Linked DNA regions of Homo sapiens: all the other regions are linked to region 3. Evidence: promoter capture Hi-C in 16 types of primary human blood cells and fetal thymus (Javierre and others, 2016). All regions are on one chromosome and are shown on one strand. Each heading gives the region's core, a stretch centred on a gene start or on the middle of the fragment in contact. The rest is flanking DNA. Distances are from core to core; before and after follow the strand shown.

The links. Contacts are between HindIII fragments. The CHiCAGO score rates a contact against its expected background, and 5 or more counts as called.
Region 1: the fragment with the promoter of RGS18 here is called in contact with the fragment with the promoter of RGS2 in region 3 in 2 of 17 cell types (monocytes and neutrophils); the score reaches 11.0 in monocytes.
Region 2: a contact is called between a fragment that was not itself captured here and the fragment with the promoter of RGS2 in region 3, in 1 of 17 cell types (total B cells). The highest score is 6.3, in total B cells.

Annotation. Positions count from the first base shown.
Region 1 is chr1:192,156,932-192,159,812 of GRCh38, forward strand. It overlaps RGS18 (regulator of G protein signaling 18), which reads left to right and starts at 1,531. Exons shown (of 5, transcript NM_130782.3): 1 at 1,531-1,825; 2 at 2,289-2,390. The coding sequence starts at 1,707. The HindIII fragment of the contact is 5,451 bases long and covers 688-2,881 here.
Region 2 is chr1:193,477,166-193,479,882 of GRCh38, forward strand. The region is part of intron 3 of LOC124904475 (a long non-coding RNA gene); the gene reads left to right. Among named protein-coding and RNA genes, the nearest start is that of LINC01031, 170 kb to the left of the region's middle. The HindIII fragment of the contact is 993 bases long and covers 963-1,955 here.
Region 3 is chr1:192,807,357-192,810,301 of GRCh38, forward strand. It overlaps RGS2 (regulator of G protein signaling 2), which reads left to right and starts at 1,683. Exons shown (of 5, transcript NM_002923.4): 1 at 1,683-1,825; 2 at 2,810-2,911. The coding sequence starts at 1,716. RefSeq lists silencers at 134-223, 1,160-1,369, 2,877-2,936 and an enhancer at 1,700-1,919. The HindIII fragment of the contact is 4,593 bases long and covers 1-2,899 here.

The DNA.
Region 1 (2,881 bases), core at 281-2,780, 650 kb before region 3:
CTCAATGCAAAATGCCATCATACATAATATTTTTCAATTCTCAGCCAAGGTGAGAGATTTAAAATATGTTCAAAGTACAAGTCATGGAATCAGGGGGTATATGTATAAATATATACTAGAAAGTCTTTAATTTCATATAGATAAATGTTTTGAGCTTTTAGCTGGTATCCCTGATAAATTGTCTTGGTAAAAAAATAATTCAAAAAGACTGAAAATAAAATTTTCTTTTAGGTTTGTATAACTCAGCTTTCAATATATACCATTTTAGATTAAAGCATTCACTACTGGAGATCAAAGATTCTTGGAAGGACTAAAGCACATAGTAGGTGATCAAAGGCTCTGATAATTCCAGATTTTCCACTGGCCTGTCTCTGAAACTTTGTAGGATTAAATTACCTAATGCCTGTGAACTTTGGTTTATTTTTCAATAAAATTTGAATTATGGACTAGAACTGCATTTGTAAGACTTTTGTATTCTATAAAACAGTGAAAGAAGTGGAGGCTAAACCAATTGGAGTTGTCAACATTTTTTTTAATAAAGGCATTAAAATATAAAAACTACCATCTCTACTTAATCCATGTCATTATAAAGAACATTTTTACATTATAAAGAACATTTTAACAACAAAAGAGTCAGGAGAGCAAATTCAAAATAGCAAGTCCTTTATATCAAAGGAATTAAAATAAAGCTTTAAGAAAAAAAACTTTTCATATTTTTTTCCATTTCATCACAGACTGATAAAAATTTCAAAAATGTCTAAAATCATTCTATAGATATGTGCTTAAAACTTTATTTATTTATTTGAGACAGAGTCTTGCTCCGTTGCCCAGGCTGAAGTGAAGTAGCCGGCATGATCTCAGCTCACTGCAACCTCCGACTCCCAGGTTCAAGGGATTCTCCTGGCTCTGCCTCCTGAGTAGCTGGGACTGTAGGTGCACACCACCGTGCCTGGGTAATTTTTTGTATTTTTAGTAGAGATGGGGTCTCACCATGTTGCCCAGGCTGGTCTTGAACTCCTGAGCTCAGGTAATCTGCCCACCTTAGCCTCCAGATTACAGGCATGAGTTACTGTGCCCAGCCCAAAACTGTTAAATTAAATGCTTTCTACAATCTTTTTTTAACCATAAAATTCTGATCTATTGTCTTATTTTGTTACAATATGTTAAGCCAATGTAATTAACATTACATAATCTTATGTCAGTTAAATGTGATTTACTTAACTCATGTAATAACAATAAGAAAAATACTTTTTTAAGAACTGGAGAAAATATCTCCTAATGTTTGATATAATACTTTGCCATAACACATTTTAACACACAGTCCACACATTTAAAAACTTTTTGAAAAGTTCCTGTGGGAAATGACAGTGTTATTTGAGTCTATTAAAGCATCATTCTGGTTGCGCAAACTTGAACGAGAAGTTGCACTGTGGTAAGACTAGTCTTTATCTTAGAGACCAAGAGTCATTTTGCAAATTTGTGGTATCATTTCCCTAAACAACTTAGGACCAAATTGTACTTCATTTCCTCAGTTCTGCATTTCTGCAGAGACAGAAAGAAACGCAGCTCTTGACTTCTTTTTTGTAAACATTACTGTAAGAGTTGTGATAACTTTTTATTCTACTATGTATATGTATGGAATAGTATTAATAAATGAACTAGGGAAGGATGTAATAAATTAGACATCTCTTCATTTTAGAGAGAAGATGGAAACAACATTGCTTTTCTTTTCTCAAATAAATATGTGTGAATCAAAAGAAAAAACTTTTTTCAAGTTAATACATGGTTCAGGAAAAGAAGAAACAAGCAAAGAAGCCAAAATCAGGTAAAATTGTACAATTTTAAGTCAGCCTTATACTTTTAAAAGCATAATTGAGGTTGAAGATTCATTACCTCTTGTTTTTGAACTATTGGGTGGAAAATATATTGTTTGTATTGCTATAATTTGGGAAAAAAAAACACCTTTTTATTTCTTAGGTTTAAACAACAAACTGAAATCTAAAGTGTTCTCATTAAAAAAAAAGTGTAATAATGTTAGCCACATAGAGGAACTAGTGCAATCTTTATTGAAATATAATCTCAAATACTTGATTGTCGGTGAGCAAAAGGAGAAACATTTTCGTATGTTACCCTAATTCCTCCACAAATACAATATTTAAATGGGATTCATGAGTGTGTGGGTATGGGTGGGCGTGGGTTTTTACCAACTACAAAATTTTCTGGTAGTCAGCAGGAGAGATTTTAACTGTCATCTAAATTGTCCTGACATGAAGGCCTTTTTATTACAGAGCTAAGGAAAAAAGAAATAGACTAAGTCTTCTTGTGCAGAAACCTGAGTTTCATGAAGACACCCGCTCCAGTAGATCTGGGCACTTGGCCAAAGAAACAAGGTGAATAAATTTTCAGTATTTTGAGGAAGATTTTGCTGATTCTATCATTAAAGATTTAAGAAAAATGCAGTTAGGGATTTCTGATTTATTGAAAATTACACAGCAATATAAGGAAAGTTAGAAATTTCATTTGAAGAGACTAGAAATATTTCATAAAATTAAATCACTTGAATTAAATCGCTTGAATTGAATAATCACGTGAACACTTAAAGCTGCTCTTTTAAAATTATATACCTGTCAGTTTTAAATGACATGTTTTACTCCTTATAACCTGATAAAATGCTCATTAATTTAAGAGTTTTCACAATGCAATATTGTCATAGCAGAGAGATATTCATCTCTTTCTTCAGTAGTTTGAAAAAACACACGCATTATAGCAAGTAAAGCACAAATAATGTCTTTTAATACTTAGCATTTATTTAATTCAAAAAGAAAATGCAAAAACCTTATATACTAGTTTCATACAAATTCTTCCAAATTAGAGTATAATA
Region 2 (2,717 bases), core at 209-2,708, 670 kb after region 3:
AGCCCAGAAGGAGCTAAACTAGTTATTTTTTCTCTTGCTTTCTGCTTCTTTACTGTCTGAGATCTGGTTCCACTTTTTTCTTCCAGGAGATAAAGAAAAAAAATAAAAAGAAAAGGAAGAAAGAGGGGAAGTAGAAAGATGATGGGCAGGCAGCTGTAGGAGTTTTTCAAGTGCTCAAATGAAGGGAATAAATGGAAAGATTATCAATAGCTATTCCAAATTTTTCTTTCCAATGGGCTACCTCAATCCCTTAGAGGTTTTAGTGCTGACCACTTGTCTTTTAAGGGTTTGTTGGCCCCCAGACCTGCTTCTTTCATGGGGCCAACATGAATTGGTTTCTATTCAACTGAGATTAGAGACTAAAATTTAGAGCTTTATTTACAAGCTACATAGATGAAAAATAGACTTTAAAATGTGTGGTTGTCTAATCATTTAGTCAGATAGCTAATTGGAAACAGCTGTGATAGCTCCAAGGCAGATGTATACCTTCCTTATAAAAGTCAGGTGAGACCTACATGATAGGGTACCTGAAAGGTAGGTTTACAATACAGAAGAGGGAAGGGCTGTGTGCAAACATATTTTTTGTAAGAATTGTATCAATTTATGAGAGATGACAGGAGATTGATTTTTTAAGAGGTAAATTTCAGCTGCAGAATTTAAATCTGAAACTTTGACTATCCAGTAACAGACTGAGCCAGCATTTAACAAAGCAATGAAGCAGGGAGGATCTTAAAGTCTTTAGCTTTAGTTTGGGATGGGGGTTGGTACACTTTTTCTGTAAATGGCCAGATAGTAAATATTTTAGGCTTTTCAGTACACATGGTCTATGTAGTAACTACTTGTGTAAAATGAATATTAGTACACATATGCCTTGGGATGCAGGAAATTTCAGATGATATCGTTAGCATTTTGGTGGGAGCAAATAAAGGTAAAGGCAAAGTGCTTGGTTTACAAACTTGAAAAGCTTCCTTAGGGTATTCCTTTATACAACTTAAATGTGTTGGAAACCATGTAAATGAACAGGATGCTCTCTTCAAATTTAGGACTTCCTTGGAAAAGCCATATGGAATAGTGTGTTTCAAAAAACTGACTTGTTTTTTTTCTCTTGCCCATTAGAATATCCCACTGTAATATGCTGCATTACTTTAATAAGGGTCAAATCAGAAGTCGATTGTATTCTTGTTTCATTTTTGCACAGAACAATTTTGGATAGTAGGATTAATTCTGGTTTTCTGTGGTGTTTGGCTGTTTACTGGGGGAATTTGTTGATAATGTTTTAAAAGTATACGTTAGTGTTTAACTCTCATTCATACCAGTGATGTGTTTGGAAATAATAATGTGATTCACTTACTGTTACCCTTAGAATTCTAATCAAACTTATTTTAATACCATATGGAGAGTCATGGGTTGCAGATTGTAATATAATCAAGGGAAAACAAGATTTTTAATAATCCAATTGCATTTGTCAACGGCTCAACTTATTGGTGCAGAACAGTGCACAGGACTGTAATAAGTGGTACTATTTGGTAAGGGGAAGAAGAAGCTAAAAGCAATGTTTCCTATGACATATCAAAAGGTATTTTTAAACATTATATCTATGACTACTTATCTATATAAATTCTTACTCTATGTAATATTTTACTGGAAAGAAAGTTAATGTGGTATAATAAAGTTTAGTATTTAATAAAGTAATGTAATTAAAGTAATATAATAAAATTTAGTATTTGTTAAAGTAGTTATCTTAATGGAAACCACTTATAGAAAATAACTATAGTAGGCATTTTGATCCCAATGTTATAAAGTGACTTATCCAAAATATGTAAGATTGCATTAAACTTTTGTAAGTGGTCCCCAAAATTTCAAGAAACAAATGTGTGAATTGAAGAGAAGTCACTGTATTTTTCTGGGGAAAACTTATATAATTCTTAGAAATGTCAATTTGACTGTATTGACAAAGCTTGCTTCTTTCCTCACATAGTTTATCTTATTGTGGAGCCTGTCAACTAGGAAGAGGTGAAGACTAGACTGCAATGCAGTAAGATAAGGCATTTCTTGGGGTCTTAGGAATTGCAATTTGAGGGACAGACTGAGCTAGAAACTAAACTGTGTTCTGAAGAGAGGTAGGATGGTACAGATTTGTAAAAGGATGCTGAAGGTAATCACAAGTTGTTTTGAAAGATATCACTGGTGACAGTGGTTGGTTTAGTACATGAGTCCACAGTTCATTGGTTGTCACTGTTTAGGAGTTGCAGCATTGGTGAAATTCGGCTGTTTTCCAGGATGTTGTGGTCATGGCGGTGTGACCCAGTTCAAATGTTAAAGACAAGTTCCTGTTTTGCAAGGTTTCAGGTCACGCAGGTAGTTCTTAGAATGGCTTCCTGACTGCATTTCAAGGCTCTAAACCACTTTGTATATCACATTTCACAAGCCTAATGATAACCTGAAAAAGAGAACCAGGTCTCTTTTTCTTAGCATAATAAAGACCAAGGGAGATCAATATTTATTAAATCATAAGCTCCAAGATATTATACTACACAGCACTACATAAGGGAAAAATGATGAATCAAGCATAATGGTTGTCGTAAAATAGGTACAAAAGGAAATAACAATATATGTTAAATAATGTAATTTACAGCTAAAGGCACAAGAGAAGAAATGTCTTTGGGCAATTGTAAATTATAATTAATAGTCAATTAAATTCTTCAGATAATTTCCTA
Region 3 (2,945 bases), core at 433-2,932:
CCTGGCCTGCCAGCGAATTTAACTGTCTATGAGTAAATTCTAACATCTAAGGTTCTAAGTATAAAATATATTGAGGTTTACAGTGGTGAGAAAAAGCAAGTGTCTGCGTATTACAGACAGCTGATAAATACGTATTGAGTCATCAGAAAGTGAAAATAGATGTAGGACTATTATGCAAAGCATAGGAGAGGAAGAGCATATGCTTAAGAAAAAATGGCATTCCTAGAGTTAACAAGCATGTTTCAAAGTATCTATTACTGAAATCTACACGATTTTCCTTTCCACAATAAAGTCCACAACTGTTGTCTTAAATAATAACTGCAGGTTTTGCCCTCCAAGTCAAACTTGGAGCTCCAACTACTGGCAGCTCACCGTAAGAATATATTAATTATTTCCAATTTCCTTTTAAGAAGTCGAATACAAAGTAGAGAGAATATCTGCAGCTTGGTTGCAAAGCCGCTTAAACATTTCACTGGCTAGTTCTGGTAATATTATCCGAAATCAACTCATTTTGTGGTTGAGGTAATCTATTTGTCTTTACCAATCAAGTCGTTTTAAAACCTTCAGGAGTAGAGATGATACTTGAAGAATTAACAAATAAAACTTAATCAAGGAAACTGTTAACTCATTCTCCCCCCTACTTTTTGCCAGTTATTAAATGTTCTGGTAAATCCTAACTCAACAAGAATGACTCATGAGGAAATCCTGACTCCTTGAACTCACTGATTCTGGTGCATTACAGCTATGAAATCTCTATGTCTGCAGCTTTCTCTCCCACCATAAGGAAATCTGTGATTTCTATTTTGGCAGGAGATGTGACCAAGGACTCCTGAGGAATGACCCTATAGACAGACCCAGCCACGTGCCTAGTAGTGATCAAAAATGCAAACCCAATTAAAGCACTGTCTTCTGATAAAGTCACTTTCTCTTGTTCAATCCCTAATGTTCATTCTCAAAGTGTTCCAAGACGCCCCAGCAAGCTGCAGAGCAGATCCCACCCTGCCCCTGGGCAATCAACGTTTCAGGTTACTCCTTCCTTAAGTTAAGTGGCAGAGAGAAACGGGCGAGGGTCTCCCCATTGCCTCAGTTCACAGACCAGGGGGTGTCGAATGAGTCCTACAGCAGGACAGCAAACAAGAAATGAGGCGCGGGGTCAGGGAACGCGCTCAAAAAAGGAAGAAAAATCCCACTCTTCATTCGAAATCAGGCCACTGCACTCCGGCCTCGTGGCGGGCGACCTCCTCCTGCCAGGGAATCGCCGCTCTGGCCTCGGGCTGGGGAGCCCGTCAGGGTGGGTGAGGGAGCGCCGGCGCCCCCGCCGGGCCGCCGCCAACTTCGGCTCCCTCCCTCCGTCGCAAAGCCCTCGAGCCCGCCCGGCCGCCACGCTTCAGCAAAAGGTCGTGCGCAGCGGCCCACACTGAAGACTCTCCATCTGCTCCCACACCTGCCCCAGCTGGCCGCTGCTATGTGGCCCGAGTGCGCAAGAAGCCGGGGCCGCAGACGTCAGCAGCGCCCCGGCTTCGAGACCCTTCGGCAGCAGCCGTGACTGCCGCCGGCGGGCGCTGACCCATCCCCGTGCCAGTCTGCAGCCGACCAATCCGCGTCCTCTTGAGGCGGGGCCGGAGCCGCGAGGCCCCGCCCCCAAGCCGAGGCCTCATAAATGCTGCGACGCACGCCCAGCCGCAAACAGCCGGGGCTCCAGCGGGAGAACGATAATGCAAAGTGCTATGTTCTTGGCTGTTCAACACGACTGCAGACCCATGGACAAGAGCGCAGGCAGTGGCCACAAGAGCGAGGAGAAGCGAGAAAAGATGAAACGGACCCTGTGAGTATGGCTTTCTTCCCTCTCCCGCCACCCCCTGCCCCACACTGCAAGCTGCAAACGCGGTACTTTCGGGCTCGCCTTTGACGTTAGGAAACTAGCCTGAGCCTATGCAGGGAAAAAAAATCGAAAAGGTCAATTTGTTAAGTAAGGTTAAATCTGGGTGATGCTCGGGTACAGTTTAAGAACCGAGGGAGACAGTTGATATGAGGGCGGTGGTTGATGCGCTAAGAAATTGCGGGTTGGCTTTTTGTCCTCCTGCATTCAAAATGACATCAGAATCCTGCGGCTGAAGCGCGTCCCCAGCATTCATACGTTGCATGATGAGTTCTCATCAGCTTACACAGCTACTGGAAGGTGATGCTCTTGCTGGTTCTGAATATACTCGTTTAAAATCCATTTTTGTTTTTTAATTATAGAGCAGATCTCACCCAGTCCGAATGTGGAACAAATAATTGTTATGCAGCGTCTGCTTAAAAGAAGTGTCGTAGGTGGGGAAGGAAGAGCGCAGGGGAATCAGTCACCCACCTCTTTGTACAGTCTCTGGCGTGGTCCAGAACCTCCTGCTCTAAAGAGAGAAGCGTGGGCCGGCTCCAGACAGTTCCATGTCTGTCCTTTTCATTAAAGTGCAAAACGTCTCGGAATTGTAATTAACCTTGCAAACAAACTGATGCCCTTTGTGAGCCAGAAATAGTGTCTGCCTTTTGAACTAAATTCATTAACAATTCTTTAAAATACCCTAGTGATTATAGGTAGCCCTGCCCTTAGTTGTAAAACTAGTAGATACGGTCAGATTAATGGACGAAACTGCTCAGTACATGAGGTTTAAATGTTAGGTGGATAAGACTTATTTGAAGAGTTCTTGCTTTGCCTTATGCGGTTTGTCTCTAGTTACTGGGTGACTTTATTTGGTAAAAATGCGTTCAGCTGCAGTAGCATATTCAAGTGTTGCTAGTTAGTAATTATCTTTTTAATTTTTTGTTTTAGTTTAAAAGATTGGAAGACCCGTTTGAGCTACTTCTTACAAAATTCCTCTACTCCTGGGAAGCCCAAAACCGGCAAAAAAAGCAAACAGCAAGCTTTCATCAAGTAAGTTGAGAATCCTGTGCTTGCAAATATCAAT